Linked DNA regions of Homo sapiens: all the other regions are linked to region 6. The links are contacts of gene promoters, found by promoter capture Hi-C in blood cells and fetal thymus (Javierre and others, 2016). All regions are on one chromosome and are shown on one strand. The core of a region is centred on a gene start or on the middle of the fragment in contact, and the rest is flanking DNA. Distances in the headings are between cores, read along the strand shown. Region 1 has its middle 47 kb from the start of ARID5A. Region 2 has its middle 28 kb from the start of ARID5A. Region 3 overlaps KANSL3 (KAT8 regulatory NSL complex subunit 3). Region 4 overlaps FER1L5 (fer-1 like family member 5). Region 5 has its middle 12 kb from the start of FAM178B. Region 6 holds the start of CNNM3 (cyclin and CBS domain divalent metal cation transport mediator 3).

Region 1 (2,700 bases), core at 110-2,609, 230 kb before region 6:
TCTTGTCCTTGGACTTTAAAAATTATTTGTACATTAGATCTTTTGATATTGCCCTAAGGTGTTATTCACTATTTTCAATTTTATTTTTCTCTCCCCCAGATAACTTGTTTTTGTTTTAAAAGTCAGTAACTCGGCCAGGTGCGGTGGCTCACATCTATAATCCCGGCACTTGGGAGGCCAAGACGGGCGGATGACTTGAGGCCAGGAGTTTGAGACCAGCTTGGCCAAATGGTAAGGCTGGTGAAACCCCGTCTCCACTAAAAATACAAAAATTAGCCGGGCATGGTGGCACACGCCTGTAATCCCAGCTACTCTAGAGGCTAAGGCAGGAGAATCGCTTGAACCCAGGAGGTGGAGGTTGCAATGAGTGGAGATAGTGCCACTGCACTCCAACCTAGGGAACAGAGTAAGACTCTGTCTCAAAAAAAAAAAAGAAGAAAATCAATAACTCTTTTGTAACTTCCAATCTGCTATTAAGCCCATCCACTGAATTTTCTATTTCAAGTATTTAATTTTCCAGTGACAGAATTTCCATTTGGCTTTTTCTAGTTTGGACTTCTCTTCTGTACTTCTTACCACTTTCTTCATTATGAGCACTTTCCTTTACATCCTATAGCGTAATATTAAGAGCTGCTTTAAATTCCTTGCTTGCTAATTCCAATGTCTGCATCATCTCTGGGTCAGTCTCAATTGATTGCCTTTTCTCTTGAGCATGGGTAATATTTGCCTCTTTACTGAATAATTTGGGATCATATTCTGGACATATCATATGTTCCAAAAATGTTGGATTCTATAATGTTGCTGAAAAATACTGATTATTCATGCTAATAGGCAGGTAAGTTTACTAGACTCAAACTGCATATTGCTTGCCTGCAGTTGAAGGCAGCTGAAATTTCAGTTCAATTCTTTTAGCCTTAGCTGGACTGCTGGAAGTCTAACACACACATGTGTAGTTTAGGAGCTACAGGAAGGTTTGGACACAGTGTGCAGAATATCTGAGGCTCACTCTCTTCTTCCTGTGAGTATCCCCTCACTTTCCAGCTGCAATGGTCAACCCAACCTCTGCTATTTTGTTCTGCAAGCTGGACAGAATGGTTACAGCAGCACATTTCTGAGTTTTAGCTGCTCTGCATGGTACAGACTATGGTTTGCCCTCAGACTACAAGCCATACAAACAAAATTCACTGTTTTACTCTATCTAAGTGTCACCCACCTTCCCATTATCTGTCTGATTCTGTGGCTCTCCAGCAGCTTATGGGAAGTTTTCTATTTTTTTATTTATAGTTATTACATGTGCATGGAATGGTCTGGTAGGAGCTACTTGGCTATTACCAGATGTGGGCCCCTTCTCACTCAACTGAGTCTCAACATTTGTATACATCCTTGTAATGTCCATCCAAAACAAGATATAGAACATTTCCCCCCGACGGAAAAAGTCTCTGTACTCCTTTCTGGTTACAGTCTCTCTCAATCATGATCTGACTTCTATAACCGCAGACTAGTTTTGTTCAAATTTGGATTTCCTATCAGTGGAATCATACCGTGTAGTCTTTTGGGTCCAGCTTCTGCCATTCAGCATGCTATTGAGATTCATCCAGGTCATTGCATGTCAGTGGTTCTTTTCATTACCAAATAGTGTTCCACTATATGAAAATACTGCAATGTGTATATCCATTTTCCTATTAAGGGACATTCAGTCTATTTTCAGTTTTGGGCTATTATGAATAAAGCTGCTATGAATGTACTTGTAGAAGTCACTACTTTTGTGGACGTAAGTTATCATTTCTCTTTTGTATATACGTAGGAGAGGAATTGCTCAAACAGTTCTTCAAAGTGGTTTACTATAATAGACTACCACCAGCAATGTCTAAGAGTTCCAGGTGTTCCTTATCCTTGCTAACACTCGGTATTGTTGTTAATTTTAGCCATTCTAGTGAGTGTAAAGTGGTATTTTATTGGTTTAATATTGCATTTTACTCATGACCAGTGATACTGAAAACTCTTTCATGTGCACATTGGCTACTTGGATATCTTCTTGTGGAATGTCTCTATTTAAGCCTGCAAATATTTATTACATTTAAATCATGATTTGTAGTAATTCTTTTATGTATTCTGGTTATATGTGTGTCCTCGGTCAAATACATATTACAAACATTTTATCTGAGTCTGTGGTGTGTCTATTCTTTTTTCACTTTTATTTTTAGAGACGCTCTTGCACAGGCTGGAGTGCAGTGGTGACTCATGGTGCCCTGCAGCCTTGAATTCCTGGGCTCAAGAGATACTCCCACCTCAGCCTCCCAAATTGCTTAGATTACAGGCATGAGCCACTGCACTCGGCCAGCTTTTATTATTTTTAACTGGCATATAATTGTATGTATTTATGGGGCAGAGTACAATATTTCAAAGCGTGTATACAATGTGTAATGATCAAATCAGGATAATTGGCATATCCAGCACCTCAAAACATTTCTCATTTCTTTATCCTGGGAACATTCAAAATCTGGTTTTCTAGGAATTTGAAAATCTATAATAAATTGTTAATTATAGTCAGCCTATAGTGTTATAGAACACTAGAAGTTATTCATCCCACCTACACTCCCTACTTCTATAAGATCAGCTTTTTTAGCTCCTACCTGTGGGTGAGAACACGCAGTATTTTTCTGTCCAGACTTACTTCACTTAACATGTCCTCCAAGTTCA
Region 2 (2,700 bases), core at 111-2,610, 250 kb before region 6:
GACACCTGATTCTAGCGCTGTGAGACCCATACTGGACTTCGGACCTCCAGAACTGCAATATAATAAATTCGTGTTGTTTTAGGTCACTAGGCTTGTGGTAATTTATTAGAGCAGAAATAGAAGACTAATACAGTGAGGGGTGTAAATAATCTGTGGCCAGCAGGCAGACTGTGGTAGCGGAAAATATGCCCACAAAATCTTGTACTCCTTTCAGAAAGTGGAGCCTAATTCCCTTCCTCTTGAGTGTGGGCTGGAATTAGTGACTCATCTAACTAATGAACTGATAAAATAAGGCAGAAGTGATGGTGTGTGACTTCTGATACCAGATCACAAAAGGAGCAGCTTAATGGAAGTCTGGGACAGCTCCCCATGCCATCGTGGGCTCAGAAATGGACGTACTAACTTAGGGACACCCATGTCAAACAAAGACCACACCAACAGCTTATGAAAACCAATGAGTGATTTGGAAATGATCAGAGGGATCTGATGAATGGTTTGTTTTACAACTTACATCACTTGGCAAGCAGTTTTATAAGAAATAGTTGTCCCTCAGTATACATGGGGAATTGGTTCCAGGACTCTCCCCCCATACCAAAATCCGTGCATGGCCAAGTCCAGAAGTTTGCCCTGCAGATCCCTCCTATATAAAAATTCTGCCCTCTGACGAGGCGAGTTTTTGCATCTTGAGAATACTGCATCTTCCACCTGTATTTGTTTGCAGATAGGGAATCAGTAAATACCAAGAGCCGACTACATCTTTTGAAAAAAATCAAAATATAAGCGGACCCAAGCGCTTCAAACCCATGTTGTTCAAGGGTCAACTGTGTTTATATTATTTAGAGAATAAAAAATATATATTTTATATTTAGATTATTGTAGTTATTACATATTTGACCATCACTCCTATGTAAATATTTCTTCCTTTCCAAACCCCTTGTTTCATCCCCTTCCTTTCCTTTTAAGCACTGGTCTCTGTGCACAGAATGCCAGGGATAGACTAACACAAACTGTCGTGAGAAACAGAAAGAAAAGCTGGCTGCTTCTCAGCACTTGTCAGTGGGACAACACAGGGCCATCCTTTGCCCTTTTTGGGAAGAAGGGAGGTCCTGAGAGTAGCCTTCTATGCAAATTGAGAACTTTGAGAAGTGGGTTGGTGGAATGATGTCCCTGTCCCTCTGAAGCAGGGTCCAGTCTCAGTGCCACAGTGCCCACCATGGAAACATGGCCCCAGGCCCATGACACTAGGACATGTCTCCTGCCTGGTTCCCTGGAGGGCGAGGCTGGGCCGTGACCGCCAGCTGTAGCATTCAAGTCTGGAAGCCTGGACCAACAATAGGTTTTGTGCCTGGTTTTGTGTGAATTTGCATCAACCTTGTTGCAGACTCCTTGACGCCTTCCCCTTCAAACACAGATGCCTGAGCCTTGGCCAGCTGATCAAATGCTTCTTTTGATCACTGACATCTTTGTGGCTGCAGTAGCCAGCCCATGGCCATCTCCAGAGTGGTCCAGTACTACCCGACCCCTGCCAGGGAGGGGCACCATCTAACTGGACTAATGGCGCTCAGTCAGGGTCATCGCTGTGCTCCGGGGAGACCCTGCATATCCCAGAGGATCCTAAATGTTTTCTGGAGTTGGAGAGAATTCCGAGAATCCTCCTCATAAATCCTTCTTTGGATATAAGCTAGCCAGATGTCGTTTCTGCCATTTGCCACTCCAACACCATCAGCCAGATATCCAGGTGTCCCAGATGGTGAACATTCAAGAGCCCCAGCCATGGGTCCAGGCAGCAGAGGCACGTCTATGGAGATAGGCTGGGCCTTGTCCCCTGCCAAGTCAGTGATGAGTGGGAGGACTCACTGGCCCTTGCACTGAGCAAGGCCACCTGACAGGCCAGCCTAATCACCCCCCTGTGGCCAATATAAGGATATTGATCTTTAGTGGCCAGAATCTCTCCTCCATCACTTTTTATGTATTTTGTTGTTGGTGGTGGTGGTGGGGTGTGTGTGTGTGTGTGTGTGATTTTCTGCCGAGTCCTTCATCTTGGATCCTCCACCACTTTTGCCAAGGAACACCTTCCAGCTCACAGGTAAGGGAAGAACTCTTTCCAGACAATAAGTCAGGAACCTCTGACTTGTGATGAGGAGAGGAGGGCTTGCCACATAGTGTAGAATTTAAGTCACTCCAGAATTTTCAGGACGATGGCTTTGGATCCAGCTACACTCAAGAACTAGGACCAAGAAGCAGATCTGATTGGTATTCCCTAGGGAAAACCTAGCCGTCATTTGCATGCAAACAATGCCTGGCATGTACGAGGCAGCCCTTTCAGGCTTCTCTGCCCCGTTGTTGGGCCCTGTCAAACCTGTGCTTGTATAGAAAGCAATGGGATGCTAAATCAGATAGAGTGGGATTAGAATTTGCATGAGAGAAAGGGAAAGGGAGGGGCAGGAACGAGGGAGAGAGCTGAAATCTGTCCTCCCTAGGAGAGTGGCTTCCATTGACAGGCAGGGAGAATGAGGGAAGGTCATCAGAAACACCAGATGCAAGTCTGTCACTGATGGCTACCCAATATCCTTGAGGGCATCTGGACCGCCCCCATTTTGGTCCTTTCCTATATTTTGAGTACCATCTTCCCAAGGGACAAGCTATAAAAACCTGCATTCCCAAACTCCCTTGCTGCCATTGAGCAGGCATGTGACTGAG
Region 3 (2,700 bases), core at 192-2,691, 190 kb before region 6:
ATCACACAGTTCTCCTATGTACTTTCTGAAATTGCAAAGGACAAGGTAGTAGAAAATACCACAAAGGGATACATAACCATACCAGGCCACCTTGTTCAGCCACCACTAACTGGTCTTAATCTCTTCTTACTGCCCTTAATTAAGGCAGAGGGTATGGTAGTTGAGAACACTGGGTTCTGGAGTCAGGCTGCTTGGTTTGAACAAAATCCTTCTCCATCACTTCCTAATTAAGGTTTCTTAAACACCCTGAGCTCAGTTTCTTCATCCTGTTGAGCAGAGATGAAGGGGGGATATACCTCCAAGAGTCATTGGGAGGATTAAGAGACAATGCATTTGAAGAGACATTGATACAATGTCTGGCACCTAGAAAGCACTCAACAAACGGTAGCTCCTTTTTGTTATTACCATCGTCGTTATTTTTTATTATTAACTGTAAAAATAGTGATAAATCCTTTTGCTGAATATACTGACTCTAGCAATATTCCAGTAGTTGATCTTCATTCGTAGCAGTTTTCTTCTTTATCTGAAGCTCAAAAGAGCTTTTTTTTCTTTTTTTGAGATGGTGTTTCACTCTTGGTGCCCAGACTGGAGTGCAATGGCACGATCTCGGCTCACCACAACCTCCGCCTCCCAGGTTCAAGTGATTCTCCTGCCTCAGCCTCCCGAGTAGCTGGGATTACAGGCATGCGCCACCACACCCAGCTAATTTTGTATTTTTAGCAGAGACAGAGTTTCTCCATGTTGGTCAGGCTGGTCTTGAACTCCCGACCTCAGGTGATCCACCCGCCTCAACCTCCCAAAGTACTGGGATTACAGGCGTGAGAAAAGAGCTTCTTAAGGCACTAAATTAATTCCAATGCAAGACCCCAACCAACTTCTTCACAAGCTTTTTCAACCAAGGTGCAGAACTGCTCCTCCCTCAACAGCTGCTGTTTTGATCACACAAGCACACCTGTTCAATCTCATTCCCAACTTCCAACCAGCTTCAGAAGTCATGTCAATCACCTCAAACTTTCTACCCCTCTTTCTCTCTATTATAAAATAAGGGTTCTCCAAAATTATGGAAAGTTACCACCTACCAACTCCTGATATAAGAAGTAACATTTCCTTATATATATAGTAGATATATGGATACACAGACAAAAAGCCATCAACAAAATATAAGTTGAAACCACAATGAGATGCCACTTTACACGCAGTAGAATGGTTATAATTTTTTTAAAAAAGAAGAAAATCAGTAAGTGTTGGCAAGGATATGGAGAAACTAGAACTCTCATACACTGCTGGTAGGAATGTAAAATGGTACAGCCACTTTGGAAAACAGTCTGGCAATTCCTCAAAGGTTAAATACAGAGTTATCATATGACCCAACAAGTCCACTCCCAGGTATATAACTAAGAGAATTAAAAACTTAGATCCACACAAAAACTTGTATGCAAATGTTCATAATAGCATTATTCACAATTGCCAAAAAATGAAAACAATCTAAATATCTATCAACTGATTAATGAATAAATAAAATGTGGGCTATCCATACAATGTAATGTCATTTGGCAATAAAAAGCATGAAGTGCTGATACACGCAACCACATGGATAAACCTTGAAAACATCATGCTGGGTGAAAGAAGCCAGTAGGAAAAGACCACATATTGCATGATTCCATTTATATGAAATGTCCAGAATAGGCAAATCTATAAAGACAAAAGTCAATTAGTGCTTCCTAGGGACCAGAGAAGCTGGGAGGAAACGGGAAGTAACTGTTTATGGGTAAGAGGTTTCTTTTTAGGATGATGAAAATGTTTATCAAATTGATAGTGGTGATGAATATACAACTCTGACTATACTAAAAACCAATGACTGTACATATTAAATAGCTGAATTGTATGGTATGTAAATAATATCCCCAAAAAGCTGTTATGTAATTAGGTAAATGTTTACCAAATGAACAGGGACAAATAACCAGGAGAGGAGTGCTGAGTCCCCTGGGGGCAGTAGAAAGCTTGGGAACAAAACTAGCCAGTATACTCGTGAAAATAGGCTTCAGTGTGCCCTCCATAGCCTGCAAATCTATTTTTAAAAGCCACTCAAACATCTGTTAGCTTTTCATGTGACTTCACAACTTCCATCATCCTAGTTATAAACCATTTAAACACAATATCTTACAAATGTACATTTCATTTTTTTGCAGTTTGGGTAACCCCTATATCATAACTTATACAACAGAAGCTACTACAGAGCTAGTCATATGTATCAAATTTAATTCACTTATTTATTCAACAAACATTATATGCCTACTGTGTGCCAGACAACGTCCTAGTGTGAAGTATGCAAAGATGGCTGAGATGTAAGCCCTACTCTCAAGGAGCTCACACACAGCATGGTGAACTGAGAGTTATAATGTGAGACTTTGGAGAACACTCTGACTTGTGTTGCTGCAAATGAAATAAGGTCCTAATAAGTGTTATTTCAATGAAGATGATACAAAATAATTACAGGGCAGTGATCATCCTCCTGATGAGCAGCCTACCTGTTGACATGCTCCTCCCAGTCCTCTGGTGGAGGAGGGGCATCTGCATCAGTCCTGGCAAAGATGACATGCCGTTCACACTCATTCATCACGCTGCGTGCCTTCTGATTGTCATAGAGTGGCATAGGCGTTGATGTGACCGTCTCCACATCTATTGGGACGTCTGATTCAC
Region 4 (2,700 bases), core at 150-2,649, 130 kb before region 6:
GGGTCAGAGAGAGAAGATGGGGAGAGGAGAGGAAGAGTGGATAGTCAGAGGAGGTGTGCACAAAGGAGATGACACATCAGCAGGGTTTTGAAGAATGCATAGGATTTTGTTGGGGGCTGGGTGGGGGTAGAAGGGAATAACCTGCAAAGCCGCGGCAATGTGCTGGTTTCTGAAGTTCGGCAGGATCTGGGGGAGGCATGGAGGTGACATGAAGATAAGACCATAGAAGCTGGAAGGAGTGAGATCAGAAACTGTCTCAAGTGCCTGTTGGGAGTGTAGTTCTCGGGAGCCACCTGGGGCTGGCACCTCTGGCATGACTTTCTCATGCCTATGTGGAGGTCAGGGCTCTGCACTGCTTTCCCAGTCTTACCCCATCCCGGCTTCTTGCCACCTGTTTCTTCTGTTGGGAAGCAGGAAGGATGTGGGGGGTTCCTAGCCTCGGAGTTGTGGACAACCTTGAACTGATATCACCAGGTTATCCCTCAAAGTTCCCAAGGTCGTGGCTGAAAACATCTTGGGCCAATCAGCCCTGTGGCCTGTCCAGCTGGGCTCCATGCTGAGGCGGGCTCTCTCACCATTTCTCTCCTGCTGGGCAGAAAGCCAACCTGGACACCCTGAAATCCACGCGGAATCCGAAGGATCCAGCTCTCCTCTACCAGTGGGAGAAACTGCTGAGGGAGCTGGCAGAGGACTGCAAGTAGGAGTAGGGGCACTCCGGGATACAGCTGGCCTGGAGCTGAGCCAGATCTGGGCCTGGGGACTCAGCGCAGTGCCCTGAACACCTCCCCCCGCCCTCCTCGGGGAGGAGCACTGCTCAGACCTCTCCCCAGCGGGAAACCCCAAGAGTCGCTTCTCCCTTCCCATTCAGGCCCCCTGACCGCCCCATCAGAATGGTCCCTGCTACCCCACACCCACACCCGAGGCTCCTCTTAAGCCAGCCTGTCCTCTTCCTCCAGACAAGCCCACATAGCCCCACCTCCCTGCAGGCCCTGGGAGGAAGGGAGAGGACTGGATGAGAACCCAGGGCTGGACACACAGCGAGCAGGCTTCCTATGGAGCAGTGGGAAGGGCTCCTGGGCCAGGCTAGCAGCAGATGGGGGCAGGATCTTGAGGCCAGGAGGGGCACGCTGGCCTAAGGCAGGGCAGGAATGGTGACACTGGGAGGCAGTAGAGAGGTCCAGCCCCTGCTACCCTGTCCTGGCCACAGGCGCCCTCTGCCCTGCATGACCTATCAGCCCAAAGCCACCAGCCTGGACAGGAAGAGGTGGCAGCTCCGCAGCCTCCTCCTGCAGGAACTGGCCCAAAAGGCCAAGCAAGCCAAGCCCAAGGACATGGTGGCCACAGCGGAGGACTGGCTGTACCGCCTCAACACCGTGCTCCCTGAGGTGGGTGCTGCACACACTGGCCTGCAGCAGGGCTGGGAGCCAGCCGCGCAGGGCCTGACATTCTCCCACCTCGGCAGCCCCAGATGGGCCTCCCTGACGTGATGATTTGGCTGGTGGCCAAGGAGCAGCGAGTGGCCTATGCACAGGTGCCTGCCCACTCCGTCCTCTTCTCCCCGGCAGGGGCTCTGCACTCCGGCAGGCTCTGTGGGAAGATACAGACACTCTTCCTACAGGTGGGAATCAGGGACTCCTCAGGGGAGGACAGGGCTGAGAAATGCCCCCAGGGGAGCCCCCTGAACTCGCAGGGCAGCCCCTATGGGGCCTGTTTTCCTGGTCCCTTAACCACATGGAATGGGGTTGAAACAGTCCCCAGAGGAAGAGAGGGGTCTGTGGCTGTCAGCATGTTGGGTGATGCCAAGTCCATGTACCTCCTAAATGTTCCCCAAATCCACCTCCTCGCTGGGCACGGTGGCTCACAGGTAATCCCAGCACTTTGGGAGGCTGAGGCGGGTGGATCACCTGAGGTCAGGAGTTTGAGACCCAGCCTGACCAACTTGGTGAAACCCCGTCTCCACTAAAAATACAAAAAAATTAGCTGGGCATGGTGGCGCATGCTTGTAATCCTAGCTACATGGGAGGCTGAGGCAGGAGAATCGCTTGAACCTGGGAGACGGAGGTTGCAGTGAGCTGAGATCGTGACACTGTTCCAGCCTGGGTGACAGAGCGAGACTCCGTCTCAAAAAAAAAAAAAAAAAAAAAAAACAGAAAACAAATCCACCTCCTCTATCATCCTCATGGCCACCATTTGGTCCAGCCCCTTGTCATCTCTTCCCTGGACCGTGACGGGGTGATCTCCAAAATATTTAATGTCTATAAGGTTTGGTACCAGCCCATCATATCAGATGCAAGCTATAAATAAGACTAAACACCCTGACCACCACCCCCACCCCTGGCTGTGACAGTGGCCTCCCTGCTTCTAATCCTCCCTGGGGGGACGTGGGGGCCACTCCCTCCCCCTTCAGAGACTCCCTGGCTCCCCACTGCCTCCTGGAGAAGGTGCCGCCTTGCCACCTGGCCCCTGGCCCCTGTTCCTGCATCCATTCTCTCTGGCCCATACTCTCAACAGTAAGGACACTCTGGGCTTTCCTGGCCCCAACTGTACCTGCCCTTTGCCCTCTCCACCAACACGCAAGGCTCCTTCCATGACCACCAGAGTCCTTCGCATCCCGCAAGAGCCCCTGAGACATGAATCCTGGCTCTGTGTGGCCCTAGGCCAACTCCTGGCCATGCCCAGCCCTCAGCATGCTGCTCTGTA
Region 5 (2,700 bases), core at 21-2,520, 180 kb after region 6:
CACTCCAGGGACTATTGCTGGGGAAGAACCGACAGACATGAGAGAGAGACGGGAGGGGGATTCCACTGTGTTAACTCAGAGGATGACCCCATTTACAAGGTGAGTGGGGTGAAGGTGAGCTCAGCTGGAAGCCATGCCAATTTTGTTTGTTTACTGCAAAAATACTTTATTTTATATATCACTAGCTGTGAATTTTTGTCATTAGTTGTTGTATGAATGCTGCCTAGTGCCATTAACCAAATGGCATGACCATTTTACGTCCACAATTCACTTCTGTATTGACAGAATTTTCTCTCTCTTTTTTTTTTTTTGAGACAGTCTCACTCTGTTGACCAGGCTGGAGTGCAGTGGCGCCATCTCCACTCACTGCAACCTCCACCTCCCAGGTTCAAGGAATTCTCCTGACTCAGCTTCCCTAGTAGCTGGGATTACAAGTGCTCACCACCATGCCCAGCTAATGTTTGTGATTTTAGTAGTGATGCGGTTTTGCCATGTTGGCCAGGCTGTTCTCAAATTCCTGACCTCATGATCAGCCTGCCTCGGCCTCCCAAAGTGTTGGGATTACAGGCATGAGCCACCGTACCCAGCCTACAAACAGAATTTTCATGATTGATGTAAGTAAACCTGTCAGTGAAGATTTACCATTGAGATGCAGTCTAACATCCGTAACATCTGATGTTTTGCAGACAGCAATGTAGGAGAGACTTTTTTTTTGAGACAGAGTCTCCCTCTGTCGCCCAGGCTGGAGTGCAGTGGGGAGATCTCGGCTCACTGCAAGCTCCGCCTCCTGGGTTCACGCCATTCTCCTACCTCAGCCTCCTGAGCAGCTGTGACTACAGGCGCCCACCACCACGCCTGGCTAATTTTTTTGTATTTCTAGTAGAGACCTGGTTTCACTGTGTTAGCCAGGATGGTCTGGATCTCCTGACCTCGTGATCTGCCCACCTCGGTCTCCCAAAGTGCTGGGATTACAGGCCCGAGCCACCGCACCCGGCCGGAGAGATGTCTTTTTAATCACCTTTCATTTAAGTGCCCTTATGTAAAAAAATAAATAATTTGGAAGTTCTAAGTCTCCAAAGGACATTTTTAAACGTACATATAGAAATGGTTACAATGGGCTGGGCACGGTGGCTCACGCCTGTAATCCCAGCACTTTGGGAGGCAGAGGCGGGCGGATCACGAGGTCAAGAGATTGAGACCATCCTGGCCAACATGGCGAAACCCCGTCTCCAATCATGGATTTCTGTGCTTGCTTGAATTTGGGGATTTCCCTTCTGCTCTTCATCCTTTGTATTTTTAGTAACTAAAAATACAAAAATTAGCTGGGCGTGGTGGCGCCTGCTTGTAATCCCAGCTACTCGGGAGGCTGAGGCAGGAGAATCACTTGAACCTGGGAAGTGGAGGTTGCAGTGAGCCGAGATCGCGCCATTGCACTCCAGCCTGGCAACAAGAGCGAAACTCTGGCCGGGCACGGTGGCTCACGCCTGTAATCCCAGCACTTTGGGAGGCCGAGGCGGGTGGATCACGAGGTCAGGAGATTGAGACCATCCTGGCTAACACGGTGAAACCCCGTCTCTACTAAAAAATACACACACACACAAAAATTAGCCGGGCGTGGTGGCGGGCGCCTATAGTGCCAGCTACTCAGGAGGCTGAGGCAGGAGAACGGCGTGAACTCGGGAGGCGGAGCTTGCAGTGAGCCGATGGCGCCACCGCACTCCAGCCTGGGAGACAGAGGGAGACTCCGTCAGAAAGAAAGAAAGAGAGAAAGAGAGGAAAAAGAGGAAAGAAAGGAAAGAAAGGAAAAGTTCCAATGGGCCAGACGCAATGGCTCATCCCTGTAATCCTAGCACTTTGGGAGGCTGAGGCGGGTGGATCACCTGACTTCGGGAGTTTGAGACCAGCCTGACCACCATGAAGAAACCCCATCTCTACTAAAAATACAAAAAATTAGCTGGGCGTGGGGGCGCATGCCTGCACTTCCAGCTACTGGGGAGGCTGAGGCAGGAGAATCGCTTGAACCCAGGAGGTGGAGGTTGCAGTGAGATGATATCACCCCATTGCACTCCAGCCTGGGCAATAAGAGCGAAACTTTGTCTCAATAAATAAATAAATAAATAAATAGAAATAGTTACAATGAAAGCTGGGTGCGGTGGCTCACACCTGTAATCCCAGCACTTTGGGAGGCCAAGGCAGGTGGATCACCTGAGGTCAGGAGTTCGAGGCCAGCCTGGCCAACATGGTGAAACCCCGTCTCTACTAAAAATACAAAAATTAGCTGGGCATGGTGGCAGGTGCCTGTAATCCCAGCTACTCCGGAGGCTGAGGCAGGAGAATGACTTGAAACCGGGAGGCAGATGTTGCAGTAAGCTGAGATCGTGTCACTGCCCTCCAGACTGGGCAACAGGGCGAGACTCTGTCTCAAAAAAAGAAAAAGAAAAAAAAAGAAAAAAAAAAAGAAATGATTACGAGCCTTTTTTTTTTTTTTTTTGAGGCAGGGTCTTACTTTGTTGCCCAGGCTGCAGTGCAGTGGCATAATCACAGTTCACTGCAACCTAGACCTCCTGGGCTCAAGGAACCCTCCCACTTCAGCCTCCCCACTCTTGACATCCCCACACCCCCACCCCAAGTAGCTGGGTCTACAGGGGTACACCACCACATCTAGCTAATTAAAAAAATGTTTTGTAGAGAAGGGGGGTC
Region 6 (2,700 bases), core at 27-2,526:
ATTTTTTTTTTTTTTTGCACATTACCTTCCACACAAGTTTTACTTTGTGGCCACAATGTGCATACTTTTTTTGATTGTTACTTTCATGACATAGCAAATTGTTTCTATAGAGTCTTTATAAAGGTCATTTAAAATGACATGTGCAGTAAGTCAAAGTCTTCTTGTGCTAGGAAATTTGAAAAAACAAAAGTGTAGAGAAAAATACAAAAATTACTGAATCTGAACATCTATAGAGAAGTGTTGTTAGCAGTTGGTTTATTTCCTTCCAATCACATACAGATCATATCTGATGGGTAAAGAATATTCCATACTGTCAACAGACCACACTGTCTTCTAAAATCGCTTCAGCAGTGAGGATCCTCTGGAATAGATCTTGTTAATCCTGAGGAATTATTCTCCCAGCGGTGAGCTATGAGAAGTGGAATCACCAGATGTAGTAATTCCTGACAGAACTGCCGCCTGCTTGTGTGGCTGAGATGCTGACCTAGGTATCAGGCTGGTCGCGCCGGAACCCAGCACCCACGCTGAGTCTTTCTGAGCTCCACTCTGCTCCTGTTAGATATTAACCACCTGAGGTAGCTGTCCAGATTCAAGGCGGTAGTGATTTTGTGTGTCTGTGTATTTATCACGGGGTCCGCGGCGGGAACGCAGGGGCTGTGTCCCACGTCCCCAAACCTCTAGTAGGGTACGGCGCGATGAACATCTTCCATAAACCTTAAACCTCCCGGCGCTCAGTCACTGGTTCTTATTTCAGCCCTCTTAGCCCCGTAGGTCGGCGCGCTGAAAACCTTTCTGGTACCTGGGGCCTTTCCTAAGAAAAAGGCACATGTCTCGCACATTTCAGTCTGGTCTGCAACTTCAGGCGCGCCAGCACCCGAGGTTCTTCCGACCGGCCGCTCCGCTCCCAAGCCGGGAACTTCCCAGAGAATTGGCTCGGCCTCCGGGCGCGGGGGACAGCATCGGGAGGAGTGGGACTCCGGGCGCCGCGCACGGGCCGAGGACAGCCGGGCTTGGGAGGCCCTGCCCGCCGCCCCGCGTCCTCCCGGCCACTGCCACCCCGCGCATCCGGAGCCGCAGCAGACTCGGCGGGGCCCGGAGCCCCACGCCCCCGGCCCGCCCCTGGCCGCCACTTGTTTACTCCCCGGCGCAGCCTAGTCCGACCCTGGGGCCCGCCCCCGCCCACCGCCTATTGGCCGAGGAGGCGCGAAGAGCCGTAACGATTGGCCCGGGGAGGCGCGGGGCGAGCGGGGTAGGCTGCGCGAGAGGCCGAGAGGGGGCAGCAGGCGATGGCGGCGGCGGTAGCTGCGGCGGGTCGGTTAGGCTGGTTGTTCGCCGCGCTCTGCCTGGGCAACGCCGCGGGGGAGGCCGCGCCGGGCCCGCGAGTGCTGGGCTTCTGCCTGGAGGAGGATGGAGCGGCGGGCGCGGGTTGGGTACGCGGAGGGGCGGCGCGGGACACGCCGGACGCCACCTTCCTCCTGCGCCTCTTCGGCCCGGGCTTCGCCAACAGCTCTTGGTCCTGGGTGGCCCCGGAGGGGGCGGGCTGCCGGGAGGAGGCGGCCTCCCCCGCGGGCGAGTGGCGCGCGCTGCTGCGCTTGCGCCTGCGGGCCGAGGCCGTGCGCCCGCACTCGGCGCTGCTGGCGGTGCGCGTGGAGCCGGGTGGCGGGGCGGCTGAGGAGGCGGCGCCGCCCTGGGCTCTGGGCCTGGGGGCGGCCGGGCTGCTGGCGCTGGCAGCGCTGGCGCGAGGCCTGCAGCTGAGCGCGCTGGCGCTGGCGCCTGCCGAGGTGCAGGTGCTGCGCGAGAGCGGCTCGGAGGCGGAGCGTGCGGCGGCGCGGCGTTTGGAGCCCGCGCGGCGCTGGGCCGGCTGCGCCTTGGGCGCGCTGCTGCTGCTGGCCAGCCTGGCGCAGGCGGCGCTGGCGGTGCTGCTGTACCGCGCGGCCGGCCAGCGTGCGGTGCCCGCCGTGTTGGGCAGCGCGGGGCTCGTGTTCCTGGTGGGAGAGGTGGTGCCGGCCGCCGTGAGCGGGCGCTGGACGCTGGCGCTGGCGCCGCGAGCGCTCGGCCTCAGCCGCCTGGCCGTCCTGCTCACTCTGCCCGTCGCGCTGCCCGTGGGGCAGCTGCTGGAGCTGGCGGCGCGGCCCGGGCGGCTGCGGGAGCGGGTGCTGGAGCTGGCGCGCGGCGGCGGCGACCCCTACAGCGATCTCAGCAAGGGCGTGCTGCGCTGCCGGACCGTGGAGGACGTGCTCACGCCCCTCGAAGACTGCTTCATGCTGGACGCCAGCACCGTGCTGGACTTCGGCGTCCTGGCCAGCATCATGCAGAGCGGCCACACGCGCATCCCGGTGTACGAGGAGGAGCGCTCCAACATCGTGGACATGCTCTACCTCAAGGACTTGGCCTTCGTGGATCCCGAAGACTGCACGCCGCTCAGCACCATCACTCGTTTCTACAACCATCCGCTCCACTTCGTCTTCAACGACACCAAGCTGGACGCTGTCCTGGAGGAATTCAAGCGAGGTAACGGCCCGGGCATGGTGCAGGGGACGCCCGTGCGAGTGCCCTCTCCCTGAAAAGGGGTGGAGAGTTATGGAAGCCTTCTGGAAAGGGTCCCACCCCTGTGGAGAGCAGTGAGACCTCTAAGGTCCCTTTTCAAGACGGTATTGGCCTTGCAGCTTGGAATGACCTTTTGAAATACTTAAAGGCCAT

The links. Contacts are between HindIII fragments. The CHiCAGO score rates a contact against its expected background, and 5 or more counts as called.
Region 1: a contact is called between a fragment that was not itself captured here and the fragment with the promoter of CNNM3 in region 6, in 13 of 17 cell types (M1 macrophages, M2 macrophages, total CD8 T cells and 10 more). The highest score is 10.2, in M1 macrophages.
Region 2: a contact is called between a fragment that was not itself captured here and the fragment with the promoter of CNNM3 in region 6, in 17 of 17 cell types (M2 macrophages, M1 macrophages, neutrophils and 14 more). The highest score is 13.6, in M2 macrophages.
Region 3: a fragment that was not itself captured here is called in contact with the fragment with the promoter of CNNM3 in region 6 in 17 of 17 cell types (naive CD4 T cells, total B cells, naive B cells and 14 more); the score reaches 9.9 in naive CD4 T cells.
Region 4: a contact is called between a fragment that was not itself captured here and the fragment with the promoter of CNNM3 in region 6, in 1 of 17 cell types (neutrophils). The highest score is 5.6, in neutrophils.
Region 5: a fragment that was not itself captured here is called in contact with the fragment with the promoter of CNNM3 in region 6 in 7 of 17 cell types (non-activated CD4 T cells, naive CD8 T cells, total CD4 T cells and 4 more); the score reaches 7.9 in non-activated CD4 T cells.

Annotation. Positions count from the first base shown.
Region 1 is chr2:96,581,977-96,584,676 of GRCh38, forward strand. It overlaps a transcript of KANSL3 not described here. Among named protein-coding and RNA genes, the nearest start is that of ARID5A, 47 kb to the left of the region's middle. The HindIII fragment of the contact is 3,643 bases long and covers 1-2,700 here.
Region 2 is chr2:96,562,946-96,565,645 of GRCh38, forward strand. No RefSeq gene overlaps it. Among named protein-coding and RNA genes, the nearest start is that of ARID5A, 28 kb to the left of the region's middle. RefSeq lists enhancers at 1,363-1,863, 1,934-2,434. The HindIII fragment of the contact is 4,621 bases long and covers 1-2,700 here.
Region 3 is chr2:96,628,784-96,631,483 of GRCh38, forward strand. KANSL3 (KAT8 regulatory NSL complex subunit 3) reads right to left here. Exons shown (of 21, transcript NM_001115016.3): 3 at 2,529-2,699. Among named protein-coding and RNA genes, the nearest start is that of KANSL3, 8.2 kb to the right of the region's middle. The HindIII fragment of the contact is 1,114 bases long and covers 885-1,998 here.
Region 4 is chr2:96,684,733-96,687,432 of GRCh38, forward strand. FER1L5 (fer-1 like family member 5) reads left to right here. Exons shown (of 53, transcript NM_001293083.2): 21 at 597-697; 22 at 1,208-1,385; 23 at 1,463-1,618. Among named protein-coding and RNA genes, the nearest start is that of FER1L5, 43 kb to the left of the region's middle. RefSeq lists an enhancer at 1,186-1,911. The HindIII fragment of the contact is 6,129 bases long and covers 1-2,700 here.
Region 5 is chr2:96,997,645-97,000,344 of GRCh38, forward strand. No RefSeq gene overlaps it. Among named protein-coding and RNA genes, the nearest start is that of FAM178B, 12 kb to the left of the region's middle. The HindIII fragment of the contact is 4,040 bases long and covers 1-2,700 here.
Region 6 is chr2:96,814,992-96,817,691 of GRCh38, forward strand. CNNM3 (cyclin and CBS domain divalent metal cation transport mediator 3) reads left to right here and starts at 1,277. Exons shown (of 8, transcript NM_017623.5): 1 at 1,277-2,511. The coding sequence starts at 1,287. RefSeq lists an enhancer at 424-543 and silencers at 884-1,863, 1,874-2,013, 2,024-2,133. The HindIII fragment of the contact is 9,370 bases long and covers 1-2,700 here.